Linked DNA regions of Homo sapiens: all the other regions are linked to region 1. Evidence: promoter capture Hi-C in 16 types of primary human blood cells and fetal thymus (Javierre and others, 2016). All regions are on one chromosome and are shown on one strand. Each heading gives the region's core, a stretch centred on a gene start or on the middle of the fragment in contact. The rest is flanking DNA. Distances are from core to core; before and after follow the strand shown.

What was found. Contacts are between HindIII fragments. The CHiCAGO score rates a contact against its expected background, and 5 or more counts as called.
Region 2: a contact is called between a fragment that was not itself captured here and the fragment with the promoter of TINF2 in region 1, in 3 of 17 cell types (activated CD4 T cells, total B cells and M0 macrophages). The highest score is 5.7, in activated CD4 T cells.
Region 3: a fragment that was not itself captured here is called in contact with the fragment with the promoter of TINF2 in region 1 in 1 of 17 cell types (naive CD4 T cells); the score reaches 5.3 in naive CD4 T cells.
Region 4: a fragment that was not itself captured here is called in contact with the fragment with the promoter of TINF2 in region 1 in 13 of 17 cell types (activated CD4 T cells, naive B cells, naive CD8 T cells and 10 more); the score reaches 12.2 in activated CD4 T cells.

What each region holds. Positions count from the first base shown.
Region 1 is chr14:24,241,373-24,246,222 of GRCh38, reverse strand. TINF2 (TERF1 interacting nuclear factor 2) reads left to right here and starts at 3,600. Exons shown (of 9, transcript NM_001099274.3): 1 at 3,600-4,082; 2 at 4,229-4,333; 3 at 4,447-4,548. The coding sequence starts at 3,891. RefSeq lists a silencer at 2,666-2,960 and enhancers at 3,152-3,451, 3,622-3,881, 3,952-4,171, 4,832-4,850. The HindIII fragment of the contact is 13,864 bases long and covers 1-4,850 here.
Region 2 is chr14:24,041,079-24,045,928 of GRCh38, reverse strand. It overlaps the pseudogene DHRS4L1. Among named protein-coding and RNA genes, the nearest start is that of CARMIL3, 8.5 kb to the left of the region's middle. The HindIII fragment of the contact is 635 bases long and covers 2,600-3,234 here.
Region 3 is chr14:24,403,648-24,408,497 of GRCh38, reverse strand. It overlaps NYNRIN (NYN domain and retroviral integrase containing), which reads right to left. Exons shown (of 9, transcript NM_025081.3): 3 at 1-629. Among named protein-coding and RNA genes, the nearest start is that of NYNRIN, 7.1 kb to the right of the region's middle. The HindIII fragment of the contact is 2,837 bases long and covers 1,204-4,040 here.
Region 4 is chr14:24,107,806-24,112,655 of GRCh38, reverse strand. All of the region lies in intron 1 of NRL (neural retina leucine zipper), which reads left to right. Among named protein-coding and RNA genes, the nearest start is that of DCAF11, 4.5 kb to the left of the region's middle. RefSeq lists an enhancer at 3,582-3,876. The HindIII fragment of the contact is 2,327 bases long and covers 450-2,776 here.

The DNA of each region.
Region 1 (4,850 bases), core at 2,351-4,850:
TTTCACCATGTTGGCCAGGATGGTCTTGATCTCTTGACCTTGTGATCCACCCACCTCAGCCTCCCGAAGTGCTGGGATTACAGGTGTGAGCTACTGCGCCCAGTCACCTGGTTAACTTTTAGATTTTTTTGTTTGTTTGTTTTGTTTTTGTACAGACATGGTCTCACTATGTTGCCCAGACTGGTCTTGAACTCCTAGCCTCAAGCAATCCTAGGTGTGAGCCATGGCACATGGCCACAAGTTTTACCAGGATCCCACAGTGAAAACTGGAGAACCCCCTGCCCCGTGATTCTGGCAAAGGGGAGGAGGAAAGTAGCCACTTTGAAATACATCCATTGCATTCTGTTCTCACTCTGTTGCCCAGGCTGGAGTGCAATTCATTGCAACCAGGCTGGATTACAGCTCACTGCAACCTCAACCTCCTGGGCTCAGGCAATCTTTCCACATCAGCCTCCTGAGTAACTGGGGCTACAGGTGTGCACATCTATGCCTGGCTAGTTTTTCAATTTTTTTTGTAGAGACGGGGGTCTCGCCATTTTGCCCAGGTTGGTCTCAAACTCCTGGGCTCAAGCAATCCACCTGCCTCGGACTCCCAAGAAGTCAGCTACACAGAGATAGCAGCTGAAAATGAGTAATTCAGCTGGGCACGGTGGCTCACGCCTGTAATCCTAGCACTTTGGGAGGCCAAGGCAGGTGGATCGCTTGAGGTCAGGAGTTCGAGACCAGCCTGGGCAACATGGCAAAACCCCATCTCTACTAAAACAAAAATTAGCCGGGCGTGGTGGTGTACGACCTGTAGTACCACCTACTTGGGAGGCTGAGGCACCAGAATCGCTTGAACTTGGGAGACACAGGTTGCAGTGAGCTGATATTGAGCCACTGCATTCCAGCCTGAGCAACAAAGCAAGACATTGTCTCAAAAAACAAAAAAAACCCACTGTAACAGAAATGATGAATGTCTGTGATGGGCTCATCAATAGACTGGACATGGCCAAAGAACATGGTGCGCTTGAAGAAATGTCAACAGAAATTTCCAAAGCTGAAATGCAATGAGAAAAAAAAATGAAAAAGAACAGAATATCCAAGAATTGTAGGACAATTATAGAAGCTGTAGCATACACATAATCAGAATGGCAGAGAAGAAAATAAAGGAACATAAGAAATGTGGCAATAATGACTGAGAATTTCCCCCAAATTAATGACAGACACAAAACACAGATCCAGGAAGCTCAGAGAGCAGCAAGCAGGATAAATACAAAAAACAAAAAATGAAGATAGACTGGGCTGGGCAACACAGAGAGACACCCCTTCTCTACAAAACATATTTTTCTTTTTTTTTTTTTTTGTAGAGTCAGGGTCTCACTGTATTGCCCAGGCTGGTCTCAAACTCCTGGCCTCAAGTGATCCTCCCACTTCAGCCTCCCAAAGTTCTGGGATTACAGGCATGAGCCACCACACCCACCAAAAAAGATTTTTTAAAAAATTAGCCAGGGACTGCGTGCAGTGGCTCACGCCTGCGATCCCAACACTTTCGGAAGCCGAGGTGGGAAGATCGCTTGAGTCCAGGAATTCGAGACCAGCCTGGGCAACAAAGACTTGTCTCTACAAAAAATAGAAAAAAATGAGCCAGGCATGGTGGTGCATGCCTGTAGCCCCAGTTACTTTGGAGGCTGAGGCAGGAGGATCACTTAAGCCCAGGAGGCAGAGGTTGCAGTGAGCCAAGATCACTGCACTCCACCCTGAGCAACAGAGCGAGACTGTCTCCCCACCTCAAAAAAAAAAAAAGAGCCGAGCGCGGTGGCTCACGCCTTGTAATCCCAGCACTTTGGGAGGCCGAGGCGAGCGGATCACGAGGTCAGGAGATCCAGACCACGGTGAAACCCCGTCTCTACTAAAAATACAAAAAAGCCGGGCGCGGTGGTGGGCGCCTGTAGTCCCAGCTACTCGGGAGGCTGAGGCAGGAGAATGGCGTGAACCCAGGAGGCGGAGCTTGCAGTGAGCTGAGATCGCGCCACTGCACTTCAGCCTGGGCGACAGAGCGAGACTCCGTCTCAAAAAAAAAAAAAAGTAAAACAACAGAAGTTCATATCTACATAAGAAAGAAAGAACATTAGAGAAGGAATAAATAAAGGGAAAAAGGAAGATAACTAGAATTTCACACATATCCAATTTGGGGTACTTTGGGACTGGGTGTTTCTTGGGCAGTCGAATGTGCGGATCAGCTGAGACTGATCCGGGGCGGAGACAAGGATGTGTGAACCATTATCTCTGGGAATGGAAGACATGGGCTAAAGACGGAGCAGTTTCACTAAATCCTTGTAAGGTGGTCAAGGCAGGCAACTAATCCAGCCAACAATTAAGGAGTGTAAGCTGTGTGTTAGGTTCTGTGCTTGCTGATGGAAATGAGAGGCACCAGGAAGCCTGTGGAAGAGACAGTCAAGGAGAGCAGTCAATTACATTAGGGGGCTGACAAGTTCAGTGCACAACAGAATCCTAAAACAAGAAACTAATTTGTGTGTGTGTGTGAGACCCCGTCTCACTCTATCACTCAGGCTGGAGTGCAGTCACTGAAGCCTCAACCTCCCTGGCTCAAACAATCCTCCCAACTCAGCCTCCTGAGTAGCTGGGACTACAGGCGTGCCACTACGCCCGGCTAGTTTTTTTGATTTTCAGTAGAGACAGGTTATCGCCATGTGATCCAGTCTGGTCTGGAACTCCTGGGCTCAAGCGGATCGATCCTCCCCTCTCGGCCTCTCAGAGTGCTGGGATTACAGGTGTGAGTCACCGTGCCCCCAGCCTGTATTCTATTTCTTCTTCTTCCTCTTTTTTTTTTTTTTTTTTTCTTTGAGAGAGATTCTCCCTCTGTCGCCCAGGCTGGAATGCAGAGGCAAGATCGCGGCTCACTGCCACCTCCCGTCTACTGGGTTCAAGCGATTCTCCTGCCTCGGCCTCCCGAGTAGCTGGGATTACAGGCGCCTGCCACCACGCCCAGCTAATTTTTGTACTTTTAGCAGAGAAGGGGTTTCACCATGTCGCCCAGGCTTGTCTGGAGCTCCTGGGCTCAAGTGACCCTCCTGCCTCGGCCTCTCAAAGCGCTGGGATTAGACACAAGCCACCACGCCCAGCCTGTATTTTATTTTTTAAGGGCGGGCGCCCTCTTCTGTTTTATAAAAGGAACAGTCGAATTCCTACTGGAAGCGACGCGCGCAGAGGGGAAGGCTTTGTAGACGCCGGCTCGGGTCTGGAATTTAAAGAACTAAATTTCGATGGGTGAAGACAGTGGGAAAGGGCGGTGGCATGATCCTCGTTTTACAGACTAGGAAGTCGAGCCTCACGGGAGTGACGGGGCTTCTCCGCAGGCTCCGCGAAGAAAGCAAGGCTGGGAGGACCCAGACGAACGGCCACAACAGCCTCAGCGGCCACGACAGCCTCAGCCGCCAACTCATGTCAGCCGGCAGAGAGTGCAGGAAGCGGGCAGCTACAGCTCCGCTGGGGCGTGGCCTTCTGACGCACCGTCACGGTTCCCTCTGTGGCCGCCCATTGGCTCCCTCTTACCGCCCTTTTCCGGGGCAAGGGAAGCTAGTAGCGGAGCCGGAAGTGAGGCACCCTCGGGCTCGAGACAGCGGCGACGTTTAAAGCTGAGCGACCCAGTGCCACTGGAGACGGTCAGCTTCTCCACTCAGGCTCCTCCAGCCCGAGCCAGAAGACCCCCTCCCCCAGAATTCTGGGGGCCGATGGAAGGGAGCCGAGTCAGATCGCGAGGTACCCAGAGCCGACAGACCGGAGCGACAGGGAGTTGCCAGAAGCCCCGCCCCTAGGAGTGATCGGAAAGCCTCACCCATCCGGGTGAGGAACCCGGAGGGACCGCCTCCGGGCGGAGCCCGCCGACCATGGCTACGCCCCTGGTGGCGGGTCCCGCAGCTCTACGCTTCGCCGCCGCGGCTAGCTGGCAGGTTGTGCGCGGACGCTGCGTGGAACATTTTCCGCGAGTACTGGAGTTTCTGCGATCTCTGCGCGCTGTTGCCCCTGGCTTGGTTCGCTACCGGCACCACGAACGCCTTTGTATGGGCCTAAAGGCCAAGGTATTGGAGCAAGTAGGACCTGGAAGGGGAAAGAAAGAAAGGGGCGGGATGCGAGCACCTGACAAGGGCCCACAGCTTGGGGATGAGACTAGTTGGAAAAGGTCAGCTTGCCCCGAAGTGGGGATTCTGAATTCAGTACCGTACAGGTGGTGGTGGAGCTGATCCTGCAGGGCCGGCCTTGGGCCCAAGTCCTGAAAGCCCTGAATCACCACTTTCCAGAATCTGGACCTATAGTGCGGGATCCCAAGGCTGTGAGTAATCCCCGGAACAAGCCCTGACCCCAGTTACACTTGGTGCAGCAAAGTTGCTCCTCCTGTCTACTGGATGTTGGTGCTAACTTCTCTGTCTTCTGTATCCTCAACAGACAAAGCAGGATCTGAGGAAGATTTTGGAGGCACAGGAAACTTTTTACCAGCAGGTGAAGCAGCTGTCAGAGGCTCCTGTGGATTTGGCCTCGAAGCTGCAGGTGAGACTGGTTTGAAGGCTATTATGTGGCTATTTTCTCTAACCCATTTTTTTTTTTTTTTGAGGAATCTTGCTCTGTCGCCCAGGCTGGAGTGCAGTGGCACAATCTCGGCTCACTGCAACCTCTGCCTCCCGGGTTCAAGCGATTCTCCTGCCTCAGCCTCCCGAGTAGCTGGGATTACAAATGCCCAGCTAATTTTTGTATTTTAGTAGAGATGGGGTTTCACCATGTTGGCCAGGCTGGTCTCGAACTCCTGACCTCAAGTGATCCGCCCACCTCGGCCTCCCAAATGGCCAGGATTA
Region 2 (4,850 bases), core at 1,668-4,167, 200 kb after region 1:
AATACATTTTGTAAGGCTGTAGCTGCCATAGATAATGATTCCTCTGATTTATCTGGGCAAAGTCAACTGAAAACCTTCTAAAAAGGATCCACCATTCTAGATGCCATTAAGAATATTTGTGATTCATGGGAGGAGGTCAAAATATCTACATTAACAGGAGTCTGGAAGAAGTTGATTCCAACCCTCATGGATGACGTGGAAGGGTTCAACACTGCATCAGAGGAAGGAACTGCAGATGTGGTGGAAATAGCAAGAGAACTAGAAGTGGAGCTGGAAGATGGGACTGAATTGCTGCAATCTCACGACAAAATGTAGATGGCTGAGGAGCTGGTTCTTACGGATAAGCAAATAAAGTGGTTTCTTGGGATGGAATCTATTTCCGGTGAAGATGCCATGAACATTGTTGAAATCACAACACGGGATTCAGAATATGATATGTACTTAGTTGAGTAAGCAGTGGTAGAGTTTGTAGGATTGACTCCAATTTTGAAAGAAGTTCTACTGTGGGTAAATGCTATCAAACAGGCTTGCATGCTACAGAGAAATCTTTTGTGAAAGGAAGAGTCAACTGATGTGGCAAACTTCACTGCTGTCTTATTTGAAGAAATTGCCACAGCCACCCCAGCCTTCAGCAACACCACCCTAAGTCAGCCACCATCAATGTTGAGGCAAGACCCTCTAAGGCCGGATGTGGTGGCTCACGCCTGTAATCCTAGCACTTTGGGAAACCGAGGCGGGTGAATCACGAGGTCAGGAGATTGAGACCATCCTGGCTAACACGGTGAAACCCCGTCTCTACTAAAAATACAAAAAATTAGCTGGGTGTGGTGGCGGGTGCCTATAGTCCCAGCTACTCAGGAGGCTGAGGCAGGAGAATCGCTTGAACCTGGGAGGCGGAGGTTGCAGTGAGCCGAGATGGTGCCATTGCACTCCAGCCTGGGCTACACAGTGAGACTCCATCTAAAAAAAAAAAAAAAAAAAGACCCTCCACCAGCAAAAAGATTACAACTTCTAAAGGCTCAGATCATTGTTAGCACTTTTTAGCAATAAAGTATTTTAAAATTAAGATATGTATATATTTTTAAAGACATAATGCTATTGCTCATTTAATAGACAACCATTAGATGACCATTATAGTGTAAACGTAACTTTTATATGCACTGGGAAACCAAAAAATTCGTGTGTCTCACTTTATTATAATATTCACTTTATTGTGCGGTGGCCTGGAACCAGACCCACAATATCTCCGAGGTGTGCCTGTACTTAGTTTAAAACTGACTTTCATAGGGTCTCTATTCAGACTGTTCATGAAAGATGTTCCTCCATTGTAAAGACTATCAGAATCTGTCTGGGTGCAGTGGCTCACGCCTATAATCCCAGCACTTTGAGAGGCCGAGGTGGGTGGATCAGTTGAGGCCAGGAATTTGAGACCAGCCTGGGCAACACAGTGAAACCCTGTCTCTACTGAAAATATCAAAAATTAGCCGGGCATGGTGGCACATGCCTGTAGTCCCAGGTACTTGGCAGGCTGAGGCACAAGAATCGCTTGAACCTGGGAGGCGGGGGTTGCAGTGAGCTAGATCGCAGCACTGCACTCCAGCCTCGATGACACAGCGAGGAAAAAAAAAAAAAGAGGGACAAAGCTTAACAATAAAAAACTAGCTCACTGAAGAACATTTTGGCACTTTGGTCTTTATGTGTATGAAACACTGGTAAATAAATCATAGTGTTTTCACATCCTGATACTTTAGTGTTGAGAAATGTTTGATGACATCTGATATAGTTGGTATGTTTGTCCCCTCTAAGTCCCATGTTGAAATGTGATCACCAGTGTTCAAGGTGGAACCTGGTGTGAGGTGTTTGGGTCATGGGGTGGATCCCTTATGAATGGCTTGGTGCTCTCCTGGTGGCAATTAGTGAGCTCTCACTCTATTAGTTCATGCCAGAGCTAGTTGTTTAAAAGCCTGGTATCTCACTTCCTCTCTTGCCATGTAACGCGCCTGCTCCCTTTTGCCTTCTGCTATGATTGTAAGCTTCCTGAGGCCTCATCAGAAGCAGATACTGGCACCATGCTTCTTCTGCAGTCTGCAGAAGTGTAAACCAAAACAACCCTCTTTTCTTTTCTTTTTTTTTTTTTTTTGAGACGGAGTCTCGCTCTGTCACCCAGGCTGGAGTGCAGTGGCGCAATCTCGGCTCACTGCAAGCTCCGCCTCCCGGGTTCACACCATTCTCCTGCCTCAGCCTCCCAAGTAGCTGAGACTACAGGTGCCCGCCACCACACCCGGCTGATTTTTTGTATTTTTAGTAGAGACGGGCTTTCACCATGTTAGCCAAGATGGTCTCGATCTCCTGACCTCGTGATCTGCCCGCCTCGACCTCCCAAAGTGTTGGGATTACAGGCGTTAGCCACCGCGCCCGGCCACAACCCTCTTTTTCTTTATAAATTGCCCAGCTCAGGTATTCCTTTATAGCAACGCAAAACAGACTAATACAACATCAGAGTAAAAAGCAAAACCATGGGAGATCATAAAAAATTAGCATTTCCAAATCGTGGGACTATTAACCTTAGTATACAAAGACAAATATTTTAATTAAAGCTTTGTAATTAAAGAATGTGTGTGAAATATATTACGAATGTAATGTAATTATATACTTACACATAAAACCCAATATTGTACCACTTGAATATAGACATCTGGATCTCAGATTTTCTTGACATTGCAGTTAGGAAGAAAATAATATAGGTTTTTATTTTTACTTTTTTAAAGGATGTATATTATAAAGTGGCAACTGGTTATTTCACCAGAATTAGTATTTTACTTAACTAGCAGCTTTTAATATTTCCCAGCTAATGAAAAATGATTCCTTTTTGGCAGCTGAAAGGGGGACAGTTGGGTGTGTAAGTTTAAGTGTCATAGTTGTTGGCATATTAGCTGCCACGTCTCTGTTGGAAATCAACCAGGTAGCAGAGCATGCCGGGAAGAAGGCTGGGGAGGGGAGCAGACGGTGGATAGTGAAGGGCAGATGGAAGCAGACAGAAGTAGGAGCAGCAGAAACGAATGAGAAGGGCAGGGACAGAGGAAGCTGCCCCCACCCGCCCTTTACCAGGTGTGCTCCAGGTGTGTGGCATGTGGCAAAGACTCCTCACATTTACACTGCACTTGATAAACACATTCTAAAAGCAGACGGAGTTTGTTATCGATAGTGATAGGATATCAATAACTCCATGAAGCTTCATAGCCTAGGGAGAGGGGTAAGGTCTGGACCAGGGCTGCAGTAAGTAAGGGAGGTGCATTTATTCACGTTGATAAAAACTTCCTTCTGGGCGGGGCGTGGTGGCTCACGCCGGGAATCATGGCACTTTGGGAGGTCACGGTGGGAGGACCACTTGAACTGAGCAGTTTGAGAGAAGCCTGGGCAACATAGGGAGACCTTATCCCTATATTTAAAAAAACAACAACAATGACAACAACAACAACAACAAATCTTCCTTCTTAGGAACTATCGTCAAAATAACTTCTATTTCTTAAAACATCTTTTTTGAAAACTACCCTAAGATCTGCTGCTAACCATTTAAGGTTGGCTTCTTTCTTTTTTTAGATGGAGTCTTCCTCTGTCACCCAGGCTGGAGTTCAGTGGCATGATCCCAGCTCACTGCAGCCTTGACCTACTGGGTTCAAGCCATCCTCCTGCCTCAGCCCCCCAAGTAGCTGAGAATACAGGTGCGTGCCATCACACCTGGGCAATTTTTGTACTTTTTGTAGAGACAGGGTCTTGCCATGTTGCCCAGGCTGGTCTGGAACTCCTGAGCTAAAGCCATCCGCCTGCCTCGGCCTCTCAAAGTGTTACAGGTGTGAGCCACCAGGAAGTTGGCCTTATTTCTTTTGCAGTGTTTTCTTCCCACCTCCTATTCTTCTAAGGCTGTCTCTGACCCTATGCTCTTTTCTTTACATTTTCCCATTTGGGAGCTCCTTCATTCTCGTGATTTCAAATCTCACCCCAAAATCTATTTCCAGACCCCTCCTCTTCCTTTCACACTGAGTTCCACCCACATTTCTCCAAGTGCTTACTGTCCAGTTCTTCTTGAATAAGTTACCATTATTTCAAAGTCAATCTGGCCACACTTACCTGAATGGAAAAACTGGCTTAAATAGAGCTGTAGAAAGTTACCCTGGAGGGGCCTTTGAGATCATCTATTCCAATGTCCTTAAGGTGGAGATGATGAAACAGGTTCAGGGAATTTTCTCAAGATCATATAGTTCAGTAGTAACACACTGGGGCTAGCTAAGAACAGGAGGCCTGCTTATTCCGTGTTGGGGAAAGTGATTTGTTCAGGGCATAAAGCTAGTTAGTGGTGGAAGAACTGAGGTCAGTCTCCCACTTTGTAGCACAGAGCTAATTCGTAAGAGCCCTCTGAAAGTGAGCTGGGGTCATTAGGAAACCGGCTGCCCAGGAGAGCCATGATGGGAGAAGATACCAGCCTGAATTTAAAGCAATTCCATATTTGGTTATGATGTCATTTTCCCTGTCTCTGTCTCTCTCTTTTGACCTGGAGGCATGAAAGATTCAAGGCAGAAAGGGAAATTTAAACTGAGAAAGCCAAGAAAGGCAACATCTCACCTCCTTAATAAGTTATAAGTAGGTAGTGAGGCATGTGCTAGAGTAATGAATGGCCAAGCAGAATCTGCCAACAAGGGTTTTCAGTACAAAGCCACCCTGAAACCAGACTTTGCATTTGCCTGGAACTGGCAATTTTGATGCCTTGGGCAAGTAGCAGTACATGGGCCCTTGGTCAATTTTGTGCTCCGGATTTGGCCCACGGAGGGGTGTTATTAACAATGTACACCATC
Region 3 (4,850 bases), core at 1,373-3,872, 160 kb before region 1:
GTGCTCTGGGCTGTGATCAGGGACCCAGTGGCTCCCAGGCTAGATAATCTCTTTGAATTTTCTGGGCCCCTGTTCTGGAGGGTCCCCATGTCCACAAAGGGTCCAGGACTCTCTCCCACGGACACCATGGCTGGGGCTTCCTTCTGCTGCTGGGGAGGGCAGATTAGAACCTCCGGATCGGAGTGGGAGTCAGAGATGCCGAAGCGGCTGAGCCACTCGATGATGTCTTCCTTGCCCGCAGCATCCCGCACCAGGCTCAGCAGCAGCTCCTGGACCGCTGGGGGCAGCTGCAGTAGGTCCCCTGCATGCTGGTCACCACGGATCCAGACCAGGGCCCCAAAGGCCCGGGTCACCTCAGCCTCCCAGATCCCCCGGGGGGTCAGCAGAGGGGCAGGGCCCCAGCGCAGTCGCCCCACCAGCTCCTCCAGCCAGTTCTGTGTCATGATGAAAGACTCAGTCAGCCCGCCCACCATCAGGGAGCCAGGGGGGCCAGGCACCAGGTAGGCAAGGGTGCTCCAGCAGAGGCAGTCCAGGAAGAGGCCTTGGGCCCCAAGGAAGGCACAGTGCAGGATCGGTGGGTAGCGAACCTCTTTCCACAGCTCTGGGCTGCACAGGCCCTTCAGGTATTCCTGGGCACAATGGGGAGAACACAATGAAGTCAGCCCGTTGGGGGCCTGCCCCTGGATCTGCCCTCGCCACCCAAAAGGCCAGCCCCTCACTAACCATGTGGCCCCACCACTACCACCCCCCATCCACCATGAGCCAAATGACTCCCCCATGGCCAGCCACTCTCTCCCTGGTCCTGCACCCTCACACACCCATTTCTTTCCAGGGAACACCAACAGAACAGGGAAGCCTGGGAGAGAGGAGGGAAAGAACCCAGGTTGCAGCTCCAACTCGACCTCAACTGATTAGGTTAATTGTGGGGCATCTATCACCTTCTCAGCACCGCAGTCTCTTCACCAAGAAAAAGAAAGGTTAAACTGGATGCTCCTGAGGTCTAGTCCCAGTCTGGCATTCCTGAATTGTGTGACAGCTGGGGAGAAAGTGGCTGCACACTACTGGGCACCCTCCATAAGCTAGGAACTATGCAACCTGTGGCAAGTTATTAATCACACAACACGCCTGCCCCCGTGCCTGCAGTTCCTCCTCTGTAAAATGGGAACAGTAATAGTTCCTGCCTCATTGGGCCACTCTGAAGCTTCAGTGAATTAATACGCAGAAAGTACTGAGGATGACACCTGGCACAGCCTGTTCCCATTTTGCAGGCTGAGAAGAGCTATGCAGCTTGCCCAAGGGCACACAGCTAGAGGCTCTGATACTAGAAATTTTTCCACCTCCTCTGGCAGACCACAGTGACTACAGGGTAATCATGTGAGACTCGAGCTTCATCCCCCTCCAGAATGCCTCTAGCACAACCTGTACCCCTAATCATAGTAACTCTGTTGCCCAGAGGCAACAGAGCAGGAGATAAGCCACTGGGCCAGTGTCCAGGGGAACCCCTGCACCCGCACATACACACAATAGCTAAAGAGAAGGAAGAACTCTGGCTTTCTGGGCAGACCAAGTCCTAGAGTTCACAGAGCTCACAGGGCACACACTTGCCATCTTTAGCAGTGGCTGGGGTGGGCGAGGTTGGGGTTTCTCCACTCTGGCTGAGTTCCATCTGTGCGGTCCCATGAGCTCTCGCTCCAATCAGCCACCCCATGTGGACTTCATATGCCCCCATGCCCCTCCACATCCCCTTTCTTTGATAGTCATCCCTCTCATCCCTCTTCCTGCTTTCCCCTGGCAGTCCCATACTCCATTTTGGATCTCCAGCAGCGATCCTGAAGACCACCCAGGTGCCTCTGCTCAGTCCCCGGGCCATCTTTCCCGGCTCAGGCCTACGTGTCCCTCTTCCACCTGGCCGAGGCCACAGACCTGCAACTTCTTCCTCAGAGCCTGAAATACATGTCTAACCCCTTTTCAATCAGTTCAAAACCAGCTCAAAACCTGATGGACATCCCAAGCCAACCCCTCCTACCCCAACCTCATCTGGTCCCACTGCCTAGCAAGGTTAAATCTGAGCAGGTGTGGGCTGTCTCAGACCTTAACAAATATTCCCCCACCCCAGGCACCCCCATTTCAATGACCGGAAAACAACATGAAAAATGGAGAGATGTGCTGGGGAAGAAGATTATGGGTGGCTTCTTTCTCTTTCTGCAGAGAGCTTAGAATATTTATGGTTCCATCAACTGTCCAATATTTTATTTTATTTTATTTTATTTTATTTTATTTTATTTTATTTTATTTTTTGAGGCAGAGTCTCACTCTGTCACCCAGGCTGGAGTACAGTGGCACAGCTAGAGGCTCTGATACCAGAATTTTTCCACTGGAGTGATCTCAGCTCACGGCAGCCTCCGCCTCCTAGGTTCAAGAAATTCTCCTGCCTTAGCCTCCCCAGTAGCTGGGATTACAGATGTGCACCACCATGCCCGGCTAATTTTTGTATTTTTAGTAGAGATGGGGTTTTGCCGTGTTGGTCAGGCTGGTCTCGAACTCTTGACCTCACGCGATCCACCCGCCTCAGACTCCTAAAGTGCTGGGATTACAGGTATGAGCCACCGTGCCCGGCCCGATATTTTAAAATTAAGAAATATATAGGAACTGTGATAATTTTTAAAATAATAAATATGAACTAATATTTAGTGAGAGCTTATTATGTGTCAGGCACTTTGCACACATTATCTTATTTATTCCTCTCTCTGCCCTTTAAGGAAATACTATTATCCCCATTTTAGATGAGCAAGGAAGGCCATATGTCCAAGATCACACAGTTAGTAGGCTGGGATACTCAGGCACTCTAGCTCCACAGTCGGGGGTCTTCACCATGATGCCGTCTATACTGTAGAGGGAGAGAAGATAAGGAAACAACAGGCATTTACAGCCTGAAAATACCTGAACAGCTTTCCTGCCTAAAGCCAACCCAGACCTTCTTCCTCCAAGAGGAGAAAAAGTAGAGAAGAAGAGGCAGGAACAACTAACAACTAGGTAGAAAGATGATACAGAAGAATAGAAAAGGACACAGAAAAAGAGCACTGTATTTGTAAGAATATATTGTCCAATACCCACAGGTCGTTAGTCAACTTGTAAGTTAAATAAAAGCATTTATATGACATATTTTAATATTATTCTGTACTTGTCAAGGTGCTTTATTACTTAACACCTAACTTAGGGTTCTCCTTTCTCATAAGTCAGTTATCATTCATTGTCTACTTTCCAGAACCACCCCAATTTACACTGCAGGATACTCAAAAGGCTCAGAAAACAACAACAAGAAACTCTGGAATTGGAAGTGAAGGGGAACATGAAAAACCAGGTTCTTTGAGGAGCAGTTAGATCTGGGAGCCCAACCACTCCCAACACACATACACACACACACACACATTCACACACATTCACACACATTCACACACACACATTCTCTCACACACACACACACACACACACACACACACACAGGCTTGGCAAGTAGCTTCCCGCTCACTGGAGGGCTGTTCTCCAGGGAGTACAAAACAAGGTCTTAGGAGTCGAGGTTGATCAGCATAATCGAAGGTGTGAGCACCACACAAAAAAACATGGAGGGAGTGAGGAGGGCCAAAGAATGATGTATACAATGCAAGCTAAACGCAGAGAAACTCATTCTTCCCACTCAGAGATTTGCTTGGCAGCCAGACCCTGACCCTCCAGGCCAGGGAAGCAGGCATACATTCTGGAAAACCTGGCCAGCCCAAGAGCAGAGACTTAAAGATCACAAAACGGGGTCCCTAACCAACAGCACCTGCAAATCTCTGTACAATCAAGCTCAAAACCAACAAGTCTTGCCCACAGCCTCCACTCCCAATCAGCTTTTTGTCCTTCACTCTTTATCATGCAAGGATTATCAGGCTTGTGAGGAAAACTTCTAATGTGAAACACAGAGGACAAACCATACAGGAAAACAAAAAAGCAACCTGAAAGAAGAGAAACTAGGGGGGAGAAGAAAACTTCAAAAAGCTTACTATCATTTCTATCCTCAGAGAGGTAACAAAGAATATGGTAGACACTAAACAAGAATAGAATACATACGTTTCAAATTGGATTTAAAAAGCGTAGGATACTATTTTTTAACAGAGAGAATATAAGTGACTTCTAGACATTAAAAATTTGATGGCAGAAATGAAAGACCCAAGAAAAGGCTTCAAAGATAAAATTAAGGAAATCTTCAGAAAGCAGAACAAAAAGTTAAAGTTGAAAAAGAGGAGAAAACATAAGAAAAGCAGAGGACTTCCAGAAAGAGAGGACAGAGATAGCACAGGAGAGGAAATCATCGACTAAATACTTCCCCACATTTCCCAGATCTGAGGAACATGAGTGTCCAGATAGAAGGCCCCCTAAGTACAACAAGAGTGCCTGACAATGGAGGAAAACAGAACCGCACAAAGGGGCCTCACTGGGAGACTGCAGAACATTGGGGAAAACTGACAACTTCCAGAGAAAAAAACATCTCACACAAATGACCAGGGACCAGAACAGCTTCAGGCTCCTCCAAATGGAGCACAACCCTCACATTTCTGAAGGAAAATAATTTTCCTTTTATAATTCAATATCAGCCAAGCTCTCAATCAAATATCCTTTGGCTATGCAACGTGGACATGCAACCTCAGCATTTTTCCTCCTGTAAAACTTTTCCCGGGAAGCCACTGGAGAGCAGTTTTCCAGCAAACCAAGTAAGAAAGAAGCAAAGACCATCTCCAGGATGACGGTGAAGAGAAATCTCAGAATTTATTCATCCATTCGACAAATAATTCTTGACTACATGCCAGGCA
Region 4 (4,850 bases), core at 364-2,863, 130 kb after region 1:
TTCTCTGATGGCCAGTGATGATGAGCATTTCTTCATGTGTTTTTTGGCTGCATAAATGTCTGCTTTTGAGAAGTGTCTGTTCATGTCCTTCGCCCACTTTTTGATGGGGTTGTTTGTTTTTTTCTTGTAAATTTGTTTGAGTTCATTGTAGATTCTGGATATTAGCCCTTTGTCAGATGAGTAGGTTGCGAAAATTTTCTCCCATGTTGTAGGTTGCCTGTTCACTCTGATGGTAGTTTCTTTTGCTGTGCAGAAGCTCTTTAGTTTAATTAGATCCCATTTGTCATCCTCCCTAACTCATTTTATGAGGCCAGCATCATTCTGATACCAAAGCCGGGCAGAGACACAACCAAAAAAGAGAATTTTAGACCAATATCCTTGATGAACATTGATGCAAAAATCCTCAATAAAATACTGGCAAACCGAATCCAGCAGCACATCAAAAAGCTTATCGACCATGATCAAGTGGGCTTCATCCCTGGGATGCAAGGCTGGTTCAATATACGCAAATCAATAAATGTAATCCAGCATATAAACAGAGCCAAAGACAAAAACCACATGATTATCTCAATAGATGCAGAAAAAGCCTTTGACAAAATTCAACAACCCTTCATGCTAAAAACTCTCAATAAATTAGGTATTGATGGGACGTATTTCAAAATAATAAGAGCTATCTATGACAAACCCACAGCCAATATCATACTGAATGGGCAAAAACTGGAAGCATTCCCTTTGAAAACTGGCACAAGACAGGGATGCCCTCTCTCACCGCTCCTATTCAACATAGTGTTGGAAGTTCTGGCCAGGGCAATCAGGCAGGAGAAGGAAATAAAGGGTATTCAATTAGGAAAAGAGGAAGTCAAATTGTCCCTGTTTGCAGACGACATGATTGTTTATCTAGAAAACCCCATCGTCTCAGCCCAAAATCTCCTTAAGCTGATAAGCAACTTCAGCAAAGTCTCAGGACGGAATCATTTTTTAAAAAAATTGGCCGGGCGCGGTGGCTCACGCCTGTAATCCCAGCACTTTGGGAGGCCAAGGCGGGTGGATCACCTGAGGTCAGGAGTTCGAGACCAGCCTGGCCAACATGGTGAAACCCCGTCACTAAAAAAAAAAAAGCCGAGTGTGGTGGCATGCGCTTGTAATCCCAGCCACTCGAGAGGCTGAGGCAAGAGAATCGCTTGAACCCGGGAGGTGGAGGTTGCATTGAGCCGAGATCACGCCACTGCACTCCAGCCTGGGCTACAAAAGCGAAACTCCGTCACACACACACAAAAAACAATCAACCAACCAAACAAAAAACACCTATGCCTCTTCCGGTAGTTGATCTGCTGAAGAATCCTCCTCTAACAGCATTTAGTGCTTAACGCACAAGTGAGCTGGGCACGGTGGCTTACGACTGTAATTCCAGCACTGTGGGAGGCCGAGGAGGAGGATCATTTGTGGCCAGGAGTTCAAGGCCAGCCTGGGCAACATAGTGAGACCCAGTCTACAAAAAGAAAAAAAAAATAGCCGGCCATCGTGGCGCGTGCCTATGGTCCCAACTTACTTGGGAAGGATGAAGGAGGGAATCTTGAGCCTATGAGGTGGAGGCTGCAGTGAGCCATGATTGCTCCACTGTACTCCAGCCTGGGGATAGAGCTAAAGACTGTCTCTAAAAGAAAATCAACAAATGGCTCACTATTGTTCATTGTTTCAAATACAAACTTCCAAACCTGGATGTCTATTTTTAGTAACCTCATTTTTTGATATTTCTGCTAAGCAAATATGCCAATAAATAGCTTGTTTATTTTTACCTCTGCACCTTCCCAGGAGAATTTCTTATTAGAGGGAAGCTGTCTACAAAACTCCCTTCCTCACAGCCTTGCACTTTGACCCAGTAATACTGCTTCCAGAAATCTAGGCCGGACATGCATAAAAATTTATGTTCTACATAGCAATTATTGATAAAAGTGGAACACTGGAAACAAAGATCTAAATATCTTGCAATATGGGATTGTTAAATAAATTATGGTCCATGTAGTATAGACACAGAAATACCAGGTAGCTATTAAAATGGTGTTGTAGTCTTCAATTTTTTTTTAAGGTACCTATTCCTGGTATAGGTTTGTTGTAGCCTTCTATTTTTATACCATAGGAAATTGTGCAAACTACATTGTCAAGTTAAAAAAATAAAGATAATCATTTCTTCTGGTGACATGTAATAGATGCAAAAACGATGTGGTTTCATTTTTTCATTAGAAAGTATAATAGGCGTGGTAGCTCACACCTGTAATCCCAGTACTTTGAGAGGCTGAGGCGGGCAGCTCGCTTGACCACAGGAATTTGAGATCAGCCTGGGCAATGTGACGAAACCCCATCTCTACGAAAAATACAAAAACAAAATTGAGCTGGGCCTGTAGTCTTGGCTACCCAGGATGCTGAGGTGGAAGGATCACCTGAGTCTGGTCAAGGCTGCAGTGAGCCATGATTGCGCCACTGCACTTCATCCAGCCTGGGCGAGAATGAGACCCCGTCTCAAAGAAAAAAAAAAAAAGTATAATAATACCCAGCTCATTACATCATTAAACAAAGTGGGGAGGGCTTGCATGAACTGGTGACAAAGGTGTAGCTTCTACAAAGGATTATGATGAATACAGCTATAGCACCTGAGGTCCAGAAAAACGAACAAAAAACTTCTGTTAAACTTATCTCCTTAACAATTCATTTTTTGATTCTCTTTTCTCTTCTTCTTACAAATTAGTTTAAACCTGAATAAAATCTTTTAATTCAAGCTTTTGTAATATGGAACTTGTACATTATTGAGTAAAACATTTAAAAGTCATGGTAAATGTTAAAATAACTGAGGTTTTATGACAAAATTGAGTCCTTCACATCACATGGGAAAGAATATAAGATTAATCACTGGATTCATTGATTAATTTTTTTGCGTATAAAAGATTTTTTTTTTTTTTTTTTGAGATGGAGTCTTGCTCTGTCACCCAGGCTGGAGTGCAGTGGACCGATCTCGGCTCACTGCAAGCTCCGCCTCCCGGGTTCATGCTATTCTCCTGCCTCAGCCTCCCGAGTACCTGGGACTACAGGCGCCCGCCACCATGCCCGGCTAATTTTTTGTATTTTTCTTAGTAGAGACGGGGTTTCACCATGTTAGCCAGGATGGTCTCGATCTCCTGACCTCATGATCTGACCACCTAGGCCTCCCAAAGTGCTGGGATTACAGGTGTGAGCCACCACGCCTGGCAGCATATAAAAGATTTTTAAGCCTATGAACTTGATTATCTCACTATGACCTGTAATGTTTTTCAAAATGTGTAAGAGCATTTATATCTTAGGGTATACAGTGTGTCTATTGAAATAAATAAAATGGCATATCTTTAAAAATAATTATGGTGAAGTCATTTTGATAGACTAAATTTTGCCTATGCTGTCTTGATTTTGAAATTTGGTACGTTGCGTGGTTACAGTTTGTGAAGCACTTTTCATTTGGGTAACCTCTACTCTCTCCAGTTGCACTTAAAGTCACTTAAAGCCACAGAGAGGTTTTTCTACCTTCAGCACCCATTTTAGGACAATTTCTGGTAATTGCTAAGTAAATGTCAGCTAGTTGACTTCCTGCCTGACCTGTCTTGGCCTGTTTCCTGCTCATTAGCATCTCCACTAGAGGGCAGGCTGGGCTGCTGAGGAGAGAAGGAAAGGAGTGTTTTCATTCTCTAGCTAACCCTGTCCTCCTCTCCTCTACTGCAGCTCCCAGCTTGGTGACCACACAGAGCTCCTGGGACAGTTCCGTGTTTGGAGTGACTGATGCTCATACATGTGTTTGAACATTGCCTTATAGTATTCTCTGTGTCGATGGAAATGGAGAGTGTGCTAATAATTTACCTAGGGACTTAAAATGTGTTGACTAGAAAGCCACTAAGTAACTATGGGATGTTCTAATACTCTCATGTCTTGTGTCTGTAAGAATCAGATTTTTCTGTGTGTAGGGTAGGAGCTATAGATGTAATATAAGTAAATACCCTTTAGTGGCCCGGGGTAGTGGCTCACACCTGTAATCCCAGCACTTTGAGAGGCTGAGGCAGGTGGATTGCTTGAAACCAGGAGTTCAAGACCAGCCTGGGCAACATAGTGAGACCCCATCTCTAAAAAAAAAAAAAAAATTAGCCAGGTGTGGTGGCTTACACCTGTAGCTACTCGGGAGGCTGAGGCAAGAGGATCATTTGAGCCCAGGAATTCAAGGCTGCAGTGAGCTGTGATCACGCTACTGCATTACAGCCTGGGCAACAAAGCAAGACCATGTTTCCAGAAAACCCTTTAGCCCTGATTTTGAATAGAACATGTCAGTATGAGTTCATGAGGTTTTATCTTCTGTCGCTATCCACCAAAAAGATCTAGAAACAATGACCAATCCAGTATCAATGAACACTCCTAGCATCCAGATTGTGGTCTTAAAACGCCATTTCCCCCTGAAAGAAGCCAGAGCTTCTTAGAGAAAAAGCTGATTCCAGGTTTGGGGAAGGAAATGAACACAATGAGCATGGAGCAACTTATACCAGATAGCCGGGAAGCAAGGAGTATGTATCATGTCAAAAGGACTCAGCTCTTTTTGGCCTAGCTTCCATAGCCAAATGTGGGACAATTTGAACATTTAATAAGGTCAATTTAATAAACACTAAGTATGTTTAAATCCATGAGTTCATAATGTTTGTGTGTAACTAACTGGTTACCTTTTCAAAGGATAATAGGAAATCAAATCATTTTTTTGAAGATGATAAATAAAGATAAAGAATTAAGCAGTTATCCTGCTGTTTCTATATAAACAATACCATAGGGTAATGAAATAGAAGTGTCCA